2 separate regions of the Homo sapiens genome follow, and region 2 is linked to region 1. The links are contacts of gene promoters, found by promoter capture Hi-C in blood cells and fetal thymus (Javierre and others, 2016). All regions are on one chromosome and are shown on one strand. Each heading gives the region's core, a stretch centred on a gene start or on the middle of the fragment in contact. The rest is flanking DNA. Distances are from core to core; before and after follow the strand shown. Region 1 holds the start of PFDN5 (prefoldin subunit 5). Region 2 has its middle 9.0 kb from the start of SP7.

What was found. Contacts are between HindIII fragments. The CHiCAGO score rates a contact against its expected background, and 5 or more counts as called.
Region 2: a fragment that was not itself captured here is called in contact with the fragment with the promoter of PFDN5 in region 1 in 1 of 17 cell types (erythroblasts); the score reaches 5.5 in erythroblasts.

What each region holds. Positions count from the first base shown.
Region 1 is chr12:53,292,005-53,296,997 of GRCh38, forward strand. It overlaps PFDN5 (prefoldin subunit 5), which reads left to right and starts at 3,538. Exons shown (of 6, transcript NM_002624.4): 1 at 3,538-3,635; 2 at 3,835-3,937; 3 at 4,240-4,271. The coding sequence starts at 3,564. It overlaps ESPL1 (extra spindle pole bodies like 1, separase), which reads left to right. Exons shown (of 31, transcript NM_012291.5): 27 at 1-84; 28 at 274-389; 29 at 570-653; 30 at 802-966; 31 at 1,269-1,634. The coding sequence ends at 1,470. RefSeq lists enhancers at 3,221-3,760, 3,246-4,445. The HindIII fragment of the contact is 3,517 bases long and covers 2,982-4,993 here.
Region 2 is chr12:53,342,631-53,348,160 of GRCh38, forward strand. It overlaps a transcript of SP7 not described here. Among named protein-coding and RNA genes, the nearest start is that of SP7, 9.0 kb to the left of the region's middle. RefSeq lists silencers at 2,232-2,401, 2,792-2,851. The HindIII fragment of the contact is 1,670 bases long and covers 848-2,517 here.

The sequences.
Region 1 (4,993 bases), core at 2,288-4,787:
GAAAGCATGCCCAGCCTCCAAGCACTGCCTGTCACCCGGCTGCCCTCCTTCCGCTTCCTACTCAGCTACTCCATCATCAAAGAGGTGGGGTTCAGGGCGTAGTGTCTGGGGATGACTGGCGACTGGGGAAGACGTCAACAAAGAAGGGCAGAGAAACCTGAGAAGATAGGAGAGGGTCCTAGGAATGGCTCAGACATGGAAAGGGGCTGAGATTGTTAGAGCTTGGGCCTCTTGGTGAGACAAGCATCCTAATCGCCAGTGTCTCCTCCTCAGTATGGGGCCTCGCCAGTGCTGAGTCAAGGGGTGGATCCACGAAGTACCTTCTATGTCCTGAACCCTCACAATAACCTGTCAAGCACAGAGGAGCAATTTCGAGCCAATTTCAGCAGGTCAGGGGCGCGAAGACAAGAAGACGTGTGGGGAAGGGTAGACAACATACAGGGGCAACAAGCCTTTTCTCCAGAAACAGCTGTTGCAGCCCACCTTCTATCTAATGATCCCTCTGCTGTCTTTGCCACCTGACCCCTGCCATGCATTTCCCTATTCTCACACCTGCCTTTTCCCTGCAGTGAAGCTGGCTGGAGAGGAGTGGTTGGGGAGGTGCCAAGACCTGAACAGGTGCAGGAAGCCCTGACAAAGCATGATTTGTATATGTGAGTGCTTAAGGCAGGGATGTGGGGAGAGGGGCAGTCCTGAGGATGGTATCACCATGGGTTGCTTTGGGACTTGAGAGCCTCTGAAGACACAGGCAGAGGCCAGGTATTACTAGCTCAAGACTCATCTCACCTCCTTCTGCCTTAGCTATGCAGGGCATGGGGCTGGTGCCCGCTTCCTTGATGGGCAGGCTGTCCTGCGGCTGAGCTGTCGGGCAGTGGCCCTGCTGTTTGGCTGTAGCAGTGCGGCCCTGGCTGTGCGTGGAAACCTGGAGGGGGCTGGCATCGTGCTCAAGTACATCATGGCTGGTTGGTGAGTCTCCAAGGGCAAGACCCATCCTAGGGCATTAGGACTCCTGCCCTCACCCCAGGTTCTTTCCCAGGTCTGAATCTTGCCTCTCTTGTGCCCCATTTTCCTCCTATCCTAGTTAGTTCCCTGGCATGCCTGGACCATTAACCCTTAGCTCCCTTCTGTTCTTCTCTTGTAACCAAGGGCCAAAGGAGTTTCTCATTGGTTCAATCCTCTCCACTCACCCACCCCCACCACCAATGGTGTTTTCCTATGTATTCTGTTTTAGAGCCCTTACTTTGTATTTCCTCCTTTTCTTTTCCCAGCCCCTTGTTTCTGGGTAATCTCTGGGATGTGACTGACCGCGACATTGACCGCTACACGGAAGCTCTGCTGCAAGGCTGGCTTGGAGCAGGCCCAGGGGCCCCCCTTCTCTACTATGTAAACCAGGCCCGCCAAGCTCCCCGACTCAAGTATCTTATTGGGGCTGCACCTATAGCCTATGGCTTGCCTGTCTCTCTGCGGTAACCCCATGGAGCTGTCTTATTGATGCTAGAAGCCTCATAACTGTTCTACCTCCAAGGTTAGATTTAATCCTTAGGATAACTCTTTTAAAGTGATTTTCCCCAGTGTTTTATATGAAACATTTCCTTTTGATTTAACCTCAGTATAATAAAGATACATCATTTAAACCCTGTTTTGCGTAGTTTATCTGAGAACATTTAAAGACACGGCATGACTGCCCCCTTCCTACTATGTGGTACTGTAAGCTGACAGGAACAGGTTACAGCAGATCAAGTTTGAGTGCTTGGGGAAGAAAGGCAAAGACACAGGACAAAGCCTGCTGGGCCTGGCTGGGCCTCAGCAGACAAATCTGGAGGAGAAAGGGGCATCAAAATGCTAAGTAGAGACAGGCCCAAGGAAGGGTAGTGATAGACCCTTTGAGAGTGTTTTGGCCAGGTACCATCCGTCCGTCCTGTCTTCCTGCCGCAGGTATCTTTGGAGTGGCACTAGTGTTTTGTTTTTTGTTTTTGTTTTTTTTTGAGACAGAGTCTTGCTCTGTTGCCCATGCTGGAGTGCAGTGGCGCAATCTCGGCTCACTGCAACCTCTGCCTGCTGGGTTCAAGCGATTCTCCTGCCTCAGCCTCCTGAGTAGCTGGAACTACAGGCACATGCCGCCACGTCCCACTAATTTTTGCATTTTTAGTAGAGACAGGGTTTCACCATATTGGCCAGGCTGGTCTCGAACTCCTGACCTTGTGATCCACCCTCCTCAGCCTCCCAAAGTGCTGGGATTACAGGCGTGAGCCACCGCGCCCAGCCATGGCACTAGTTTTAATGCCTCAGTTGCCCTGCCTGCCTCCTAAGTAGATGTTAAAGGCTACTGCTGTCTGCCCATGTACACCTGTTACACTTACCAATGTGTAACTTTAGCAGTAGAGTCTGTGGATCTGTGGAGTTCTAGTGTGGTTTTTCTCTCCAATTGTTAAGCTCAAGGGAAGCAAGTATCTTACACTCTCACGTATCCCTCACATACAGCACATGGTAAAACCTTTTTTTTTTTGAGACAGAGTCTAGCTCTGTTGCTAGTGTGCACAATCACAGCCTACTGCAGCCTCAACTCTCCAGCTCAAGCGATCCTCCCACCTCAGCCTCCCATGTAGCTGGGACTACAGGCGTGTGCCACCAGCCCGGCTAATTTTTGTATTTTTTGTGGAGACGGGGTGTCGCCGTGTTGCCCAAGCTGGTCTCAAACTCCTGGGCTCAAGCAATCTGTCCTTCTCGGCCTCCCAAAGTGCTGGGATTGCAGGCGTGAGCCACCATGCCCGGCCAAAATATTTTATTGATTAATTTGTGCTGTACTTGGTTGACAATGGCGCTTCCTTGCTGTTCTCCCACCACCTCACTGGCAACGGGTGATAAACCCTTTTTCAGATCCTACTACGTGTCAGCCTACTTCCGGCTGGGGGAAGATGGTTATAGCGAGAGGGGAAGAATTGGTTCAGTGATGAGAACATGGTTGGTTCCTGCCTTCGACAAGCTTTCAATCTAATGCCTGTTTTTTTCCAAGGACAATTCAGAACGGTCTGACAAGGGATTTTTTTTTTTTTCCTGCCTTTCGGCCTCAGAGGCCATCTGGGAAAAAGAGTTTAGAATTTCCCTGCCATTTCCATGCCGTGCTGGGAGGAACATTTGAAATCGGGCCTGGCGGGGTACCAGCAGGCAGCAATAGCAAGCGGGGTGGAGAGGAGCAGGGCCAGGCCCCCGAGCCGTCGCCATGGCAATCCAGCCTGCTTTCCAGTAGCTTATACCACCCACGTGGAGTAGCATACACTACTTTGTAATATCGTGGTTGTGTCGTGAGAACTTTAAGATTTTGCAGTTCCTTGTAGGCAGGAGTCCTGTTTGCTGCTACTTTACAATACTAGGCTTAAGACATTTTATGAAATGAACTCACACAACAGTCTCTGAGAGGCTCAAGCCCCTCCTTCCCTTCCGGGACGGAGGATCATAGAGCTGTCTGGCGCAGCGAGGCCTCCCGGCGCCACCGAGACGCGCAGAGGACGGCTAGAGCGTTGCTCGCCGAGAGACTTCCTCTTCGTTAAGTCGGCCTTCCCAACATGGCGCAGTCTATTAACATCACGGAGCTGAATCTGCCGCAGCTAGAAATGCTCAAGAACCAGCTGGACCAGGTGGGGACGGGCCCCAGAGGCACCTCTTTCCTGCTCTACATCCCCCTTGCCCACGCGTACTTCTCGCGCCCGGTTCCAAGTTGGCAGCCTACCTTTCCCAGGCGAAACCTCTATCCGATCCCAGGACCTGCCCCCTCCCCGGCCGCGCTCCTTTCTCCCCTTAGTCCTCTCATTGACCCGCTATCCCGGTCCTCTGTAGGAAGTGGAGTTCTTGTCCACGTCCATTGCTCAGCTCAAAGTGGTACAGACCAAGTATGTGGAAGCCAAGGACTGTCTGAACGTGCTGAACAAGAGCAACGAGGGTATGGGGTAGGCGGGTGAGGGTAACCTAAAGTGGCGAACCTGCTTCTCTCGTCCCACCTCCTAACCCAGTTTTTCTTACCTGAAACGAGAAAATCCATTACATATCGTATACCGCTTCATGAACCCTTTGCATGTTGCCTGCCTAGAATTGAAAAGTACAGGACATTCCTCTGCTCCTATTGCCCCTGTTTCCGTTCTTTTCACACTGTCTGTGGGTGCTGTGCCCTGTTGGAACTCTCTTTAACGTCTTACGTTGGAGCCGCTAACCTTCCCCAGGTGTTTGTCTTCATTGCTTTCACAGGGAAAGAATTACTCGTCCCACTGACGAGTTCTGTATCCTTTCCACAGGAACGGCTACCTGCTGCCTTCTCCCTTTCTCCTTCACTCCCCCAAAAAGCGGGGAGGGGGATTGTTTTGATTACTTCAGATTACCCTCTCCTCACAATGATTTTGAGGATACCCTTTTTTTTTTTCTTTCTTTTTTGAGACGGAATTTCGCTCTGTCGCCCAGGCTGGAGCGCAATGGTGAGATCTTGGCTTACTGCAACCTCCGCCTCCCGAGTTCAAGAGATTCTTCTGCCTCAGTCTCCCGAGTAGCTGGGACTTTAGGTACGCGCCACCACGACCGGCTAATTTTTGTATTAATAGTAGAGTTGGGGGTTTCACCATATTGGCCAGGCTAGTCTCGAACTCCTGACCTCGTGATCCGCCTGCCTCGGCCTCCCAAAGTGCTAGGATTACATTACAGGCGTGAGCCACTGCCCCCGGCCAAGAATACTCTTATTACACACTTTGTAGCTCTTTTATCTGACTTCACACCAACATCCAGCTAATGTCTTGTGAACACCAAGGAGTATGTATAGTTGAGATGTAATATTTCCCTTTGCTGTTTGAGAACATTAATATGGAGATAAAGCTGGTGGTTTACACTTTGCTAATATCTTAGAAGATACAGGCAATAGACAAAAATAGGAGGATATAGAAACAGGGAGCTTGGCTCTGTTAATCTTCAACTTCAGCTTAATTGTGGCTCATTTCTAAACTGTCACTAAGAA
Region 2 (5,530 bases), core at 433-2,932, 49 kb after region 1:
TGGTGAAACCCCATCTCTACTAAAAATACAAAAAAATTAGCCAGATGTGGTGGCAGATGCCTGTAATCCCAGCTACTTGGGAGGCTGAGGCAGAGAATTGCTTGAACCTGGGAGGCGGGGGTTGCAGTGAGCCAAGATTGTGCCACTGCATCCCAGCCTAGGTGACACAGAGAGACTCCGTCTCAAAAAATAAATAAATAAATAAATAATAAATAATAAAAATAAAATAAAATAAAAAATAAGTACTGGATGTTATAGGAGACAAAAGAGTAAATCTAAGCCAGTGTTGGGGGGGAATTAAGGAAGGCTTCCTGGAAGACAGCATGACTAAGTAAAGAAACTGAAGGACAAATAAGAGTTATCAAGTAAAAAAAGGAAGAGTGGTGCCAGTGCAGTGGCTCATGCCTGTAATCCCAGCACTTTGGGAGGCTGAGGTGGGTGGATCACTTGAGTCTAGGAGTTTGAGACCAGCCTGGGCAACATGACGAAACCCCATCTCTACAAAAAATACAAAAAAAAAAAAACATAGTCTGGGTGACAGAATGAGACCTTGTCTAAAAGAAAAAAAAAAGGAAGAGTGTTGTAGGAAGGGGGAAGAGTATATGCAAAGGCTCAGAGGTATGAGGGATTAACAACTTTTGAGATGCTGAAAATTGAGTGTGAGTGCAACACAGAGTGGAGGCTGATGGAGAAGTTCTAATCAGCTATGCAAGGGGCCTAGACTTGATCCAAAGGCAATATATGAGAATACTCGTATATTAGAGAAATGACTGACTTCAGAGAGGAGAATGAAATAAGGGCTTAGAGCCAGGCGGTTCTGGGTAAATCAGGCATTTACAATGGTGCAAGCTTGGGTGAGCTATTTAACCTTTGAGGCCTAAGATTCCTCTCCTGTTGAAAGGGGCAACTTAATATGGTAACCTCCCAGGGTTGTTACAAGGATTAGCAATAAAAAGTGTTGAGTTCTTAGCACAGTGTCTGGCACTTAGTAGTTGCTCCATAAATGGTGCCTAGCAGTATTGTCACAGTTGGGAGAAGGGCAAAATCGGAGGCAAGGAAACAATCTGTTGCAGCAGTCCAAGCAAGATGTGGGAAGGTGTGGCCTGCAGTAGCAGAGAGGATGAGCAGAAGTCAGTGGAGGGGGCCAGCACGGTGGCACATACCAGCACTTTGAAAGGCCAAGGCGGGCAGATCACTTGAGCCCAGGAGTTTGAGACCAGCCTGGCCAACATGGTGAAACCCCTTCTCTACTAAAAATACAAAAATTGGCTGTGCCAATTTTTGGCACATGCCTGTAATCCCAGCTACTTGGGAGGCTGAGACATGAGAATCTCTTGAGCCTGGGAGGCGGAGGTTGCAGTGAGCTGAGATTGTGCCACTGCTCTGCAGCCTGGGCGACAGAGCCAGACTCTGTCTCAAGAAAAAAAAAAATAAAAAAATAAGTCAATGAAGGGGTGATATTGAGGATGTGAGGTGGAGAGGATTTGGTGTCCAATCAGATGTGAGGGGTGAGTAGTCACACATGACTTCCCTTGATCTGTGTGTTGATGTGTGCACTTGCACACAGGATATGCAGGCATTTTAGAGGTATCTATTCAGTTCTGAGAATGGCTCTTGACAGTTGCTGGATCCGGCCAACAGTGAAGGGCCAGGGCAGTATCTGAGGACCTGGCCCTCAGTCTCCCAGAAGAACCCCCGCCTCTGCCCTCTGCCCCAATCCCTCCTGAACTATTTCCTTTCCCCCTTTTCACCCATTTCTCCCTCTCCCCACCTTCCATCACCTCCCCTACATAGGAACCCGCTGTAAGTTATAAGCCTACCTAGGCCCACTTTCCACCGCCTCAGTTAATGAAGGTCCTTGGGACTCAGCTACCAACATTAACACCTCCTCCCCACATAGCCTCAATGGGACGCCCCCCTCTGGATTTCAAAGCGCTGTTCAATGCCCCCATCCACCCCCACCTCGCGTGGACGTGTGAGGCAAGAAGGACGGTTGAAGCTGAGGCAGGATTTGGGGGGTCTTAGCCCCCAGCCACAGCTGTGGGGGAGATAGGCACCCTCAGAAGGACAGGACAGGTCGTGAGCTCCGGGGCTGCTGGGAGGTCTCTTGCGGCCTAGGCCAGGCTCAGGGCCGCCGGGGATCTCGCCTCCATCCCGTGCCTCAGTGTCCCGGCGCGGCCGAGGGGCGGGCGGCAGGGGGCGGGGCGCGGGCGGGGCCGGCCGGGCCAGGCGCCCGGGCAGGAGGCAGCTGCATATCTGCGGTCCCGACCACAATTGCTGGGAGTCGCGTCCCGGAGACTGGCGGCGCTGACTCTGCCCGCTGCGGCCGCCGCGCCGATTAGAGCCCGAGAGGGAGCGCCAGCCCGGGGGAGGGGGCGGCGGCGGGGGAACTCCGGATGCCCCTTCGCCTCCGCCCAGCCAGCGCCCCCCGCTGCCCGGCCCAGTCCTTTCTCAGCCGCCCGAACCCAGGACCGGAGTCCTGCCTCTTCCGCCGTAGCTTTCTCGAGGCTGCATCCAAGCTTCTTCCTCCGGATCTTGCAGTGCCCGAGGTCCCGACGGTGCCAACATCCCGTTGGCCCCCAGCCTGCCAGTCTCTCATGCCCTTTCTCTTCCCCATCACCCCACACAGAGAGGAGTAGGGATCTCAGAGCTCCCCCATTCTCTTATCCTCCGCTCCCCAATGCACTCTCTAAGCAAAAGCCGTTCCAAGCGAAGAAGAGAATCAGAGACTCAGAGGACGGGCTTTCCAGGGCCGGAGCACCCCCTGCTGGCTGGCCCGAAGCCCCTCCCCCTCCCCCTCCAGCTGTGACCTCCAGCTGTGGTGGCTGGGAAGAGCTGGCCCCTTTGATCTAGGAGCGTGGCAACCCCCTCCAGGCGCCCCATTAACCTCCATTATCCCAATTAGGCAGCCCTCCCAGTCCTGGATCCAAGCTTCAAAGCCCCCTCAGTTGGGAGAAAAGGGAGCTGAATCGTATGCCCCCTACCTCCCCACCAAGCCACACCACTTTCAGACAAGACCCAGGTGCTCTGGTCTCCAGCTTGTGTACATGATAGCAGGGCCAGAAGAGGGACCCTCAGGGGCCACCCTCGTCCCAATACTGAAACTTCATTAAAAAGAGAAGCAGATAGGCAAGGGGACCCTCTTTTGCTGGCCCATTTTCCTGCATTCAGTGATTTCAGTGGCAGCATCCAGGTTCCTGGCTGACCTGAGCTTCCCATCAACTTATCCAGCTTTATCCTGTGGAAAGGGGAGCCAAGAACCAACCCACTCCTCCCTTAATCCTATCTCAACACTCCCTTCCTCCCTCCCTCCTGGAACAATTTCCGCTGGGGGAGCCAGAGCAGGGCCCAGCACAGTGGCCGCTTCCTGGAACATTTTCCTGTATCCGAAACCGCGGCTCCCTCCCTAGGGACCGGCTGATCAAGGCCAGATGGGAGAAGGGATGGGGGAGGAGGAGAGGGAGCCAGGCTCTCACCATCACCCCCTCCCAACACATAGGCACACCACAGGAGCCCCTGCCCTGACACACAGAGGCTGACACAGGCACACACCACATGTCATAGTCACACCATGGGCATTCATGGGGACACATGAACCACAGAGGCCAGGTCTTAGAAGAAGTTAACACACCCGTAGATGATCACCCTCTCTCTCTACCTGGCCCTCTAAAGGACCCTAAGGCCTTTCTTGCCAGATAAGGAGACCTTAGGAATCCAAGAACATTGGCACAGGATAGCAGAAGGACCTCAATTAACAGAGGAGACAGACAGAGACATCTAATGTGCCCTGCCAGACAACACCCACCAACCATCCCATTCCAATTCTAGATGGCACTCAGGCCTGCCTAACCCATCATCTCTCCAGGATCCTGGGAACTGGGGTAGAGGAAGGCTGTGGGAGCTTCTTCTCAAGTGCTACCTTCAGAGCACTTTCTAGTTGCTTCCAGATTCTTGGAGAAGATGCATATGATGTCTAGTGGGCTCGCTCATGGCAGCCAAGGGACAAAGAAAGGGGAAGAATGTGTGCAGCTGCAGGGAGCTCTGGGAGCCTAGAGGAGGAAGGAGAACACCAGAGTAACTCCTGGAGACAGAGAGTAACCCTGGGGATTTTGTGGCCTTACTGGTGACATACTGCCCCAGCACTGCTCCTCCTGATCTCTTCTATCTCAGTCTTGGTGATTGAGAAGAAGAGGGTAGGGATTATGCCCCCAGCTTAGCCCATTCTTCAACCATATTATCTTCTGCCCATCACATTTCCAGTACAACACCCTACTTTTTTTTTTTTTTAGACGGAGTCTTGCTCTGTCACCCAGGCTGGAGTGCAGTGGCATGATCTCAGCTCACTGCAACCTCTGCCTCCTGGGTTCAAGCGATCCTCCTACCTCAGCCTCCCGAGTAGGTGGGACTACAGGCGTGCGCCACCACTCCTGGCTAATTTTTGTATTTTTAGTAGAGATGGGGTTTCACTATGTTGGCCAGGCTGGTGTCGAACTCCTGACCTCAGGTTATCCACCCACCTTGGCCTCCCAAAGTGCTGGGATTACAGGTGTGAGCCACCACGCCTGGCCCTGAAGACCCTAATTTTTTTTTTTTTTAGACGGAGTCTCGCTCTGTCGCCCAGGCTGGAGTGCAGTGGCACGATCTTGGCTCACTGCAAGATCCGCCTCCCGGGTTCACACCATTCTCCTGCCTCAGCCTCCCGAGTAGCTGGGACTACAGGCGCCCGCCAGCAGGCCCGGCTAATTTTTTGTATTTGTATTATTATTTTTATTATTTATTTATTTTTTGAGACGGAGTCTCGCTCTGTCACCCAGGCTGGAGTGCAGTGGCACGATCTCGGCTCACTGCAAGCTCCACCTCCCAGGTTCATGCCATTCTCCTGCCTCAGCCTCCCGAGTAGCTGGGACTACAGGCGCCCACCACCACTCCTGGCTAATTTTTTTTTTTGTATTTTTACCAGAGACGGGGTTTCACCATGTTAACCAGGATGGTCTCCATCTCCTGACCTTGTGATCTGCCCGCCTGGGCCTCCCAAGTGCTGGGATTACAGGTCTGAGCCACCACGACCGGCCTGAAGACCCTAATTTTTACATCCCTCATTTGTCTTTTGCTAGAAAGGGCACAGATTTGTGCATGGATACACTATGGGACAGAACTATGGAAAAGCTGAGGATGGAGATACATAGTCTTCTCTTTCCTGGAACATATTACTGGTTTAGGGAAATATTTGAAATTGGAAAGTTCCAGAAAATCTGGGATGCATGGTTACCACAAACGGATGAGGGACTGACTATATAATCATAAGAACCAAAGCTAATCAGGATGGCCAAAAGTCCTTGTGTTCTTTCTTCAGTTTTGTGGCCCAGTTAGAAGGTATATCTTCCTTTCCCAAGCTCACCTGGGGTGGCAACACGTCAAGCCATCTTTACTCACATATTTAATGGTTTGCCTCCAACTATCCAGAAGTTATTTATTTATTTATTTATTTATTTATATTTTTATAGAGACAGGGTCTCCCTATGTTCTCCAG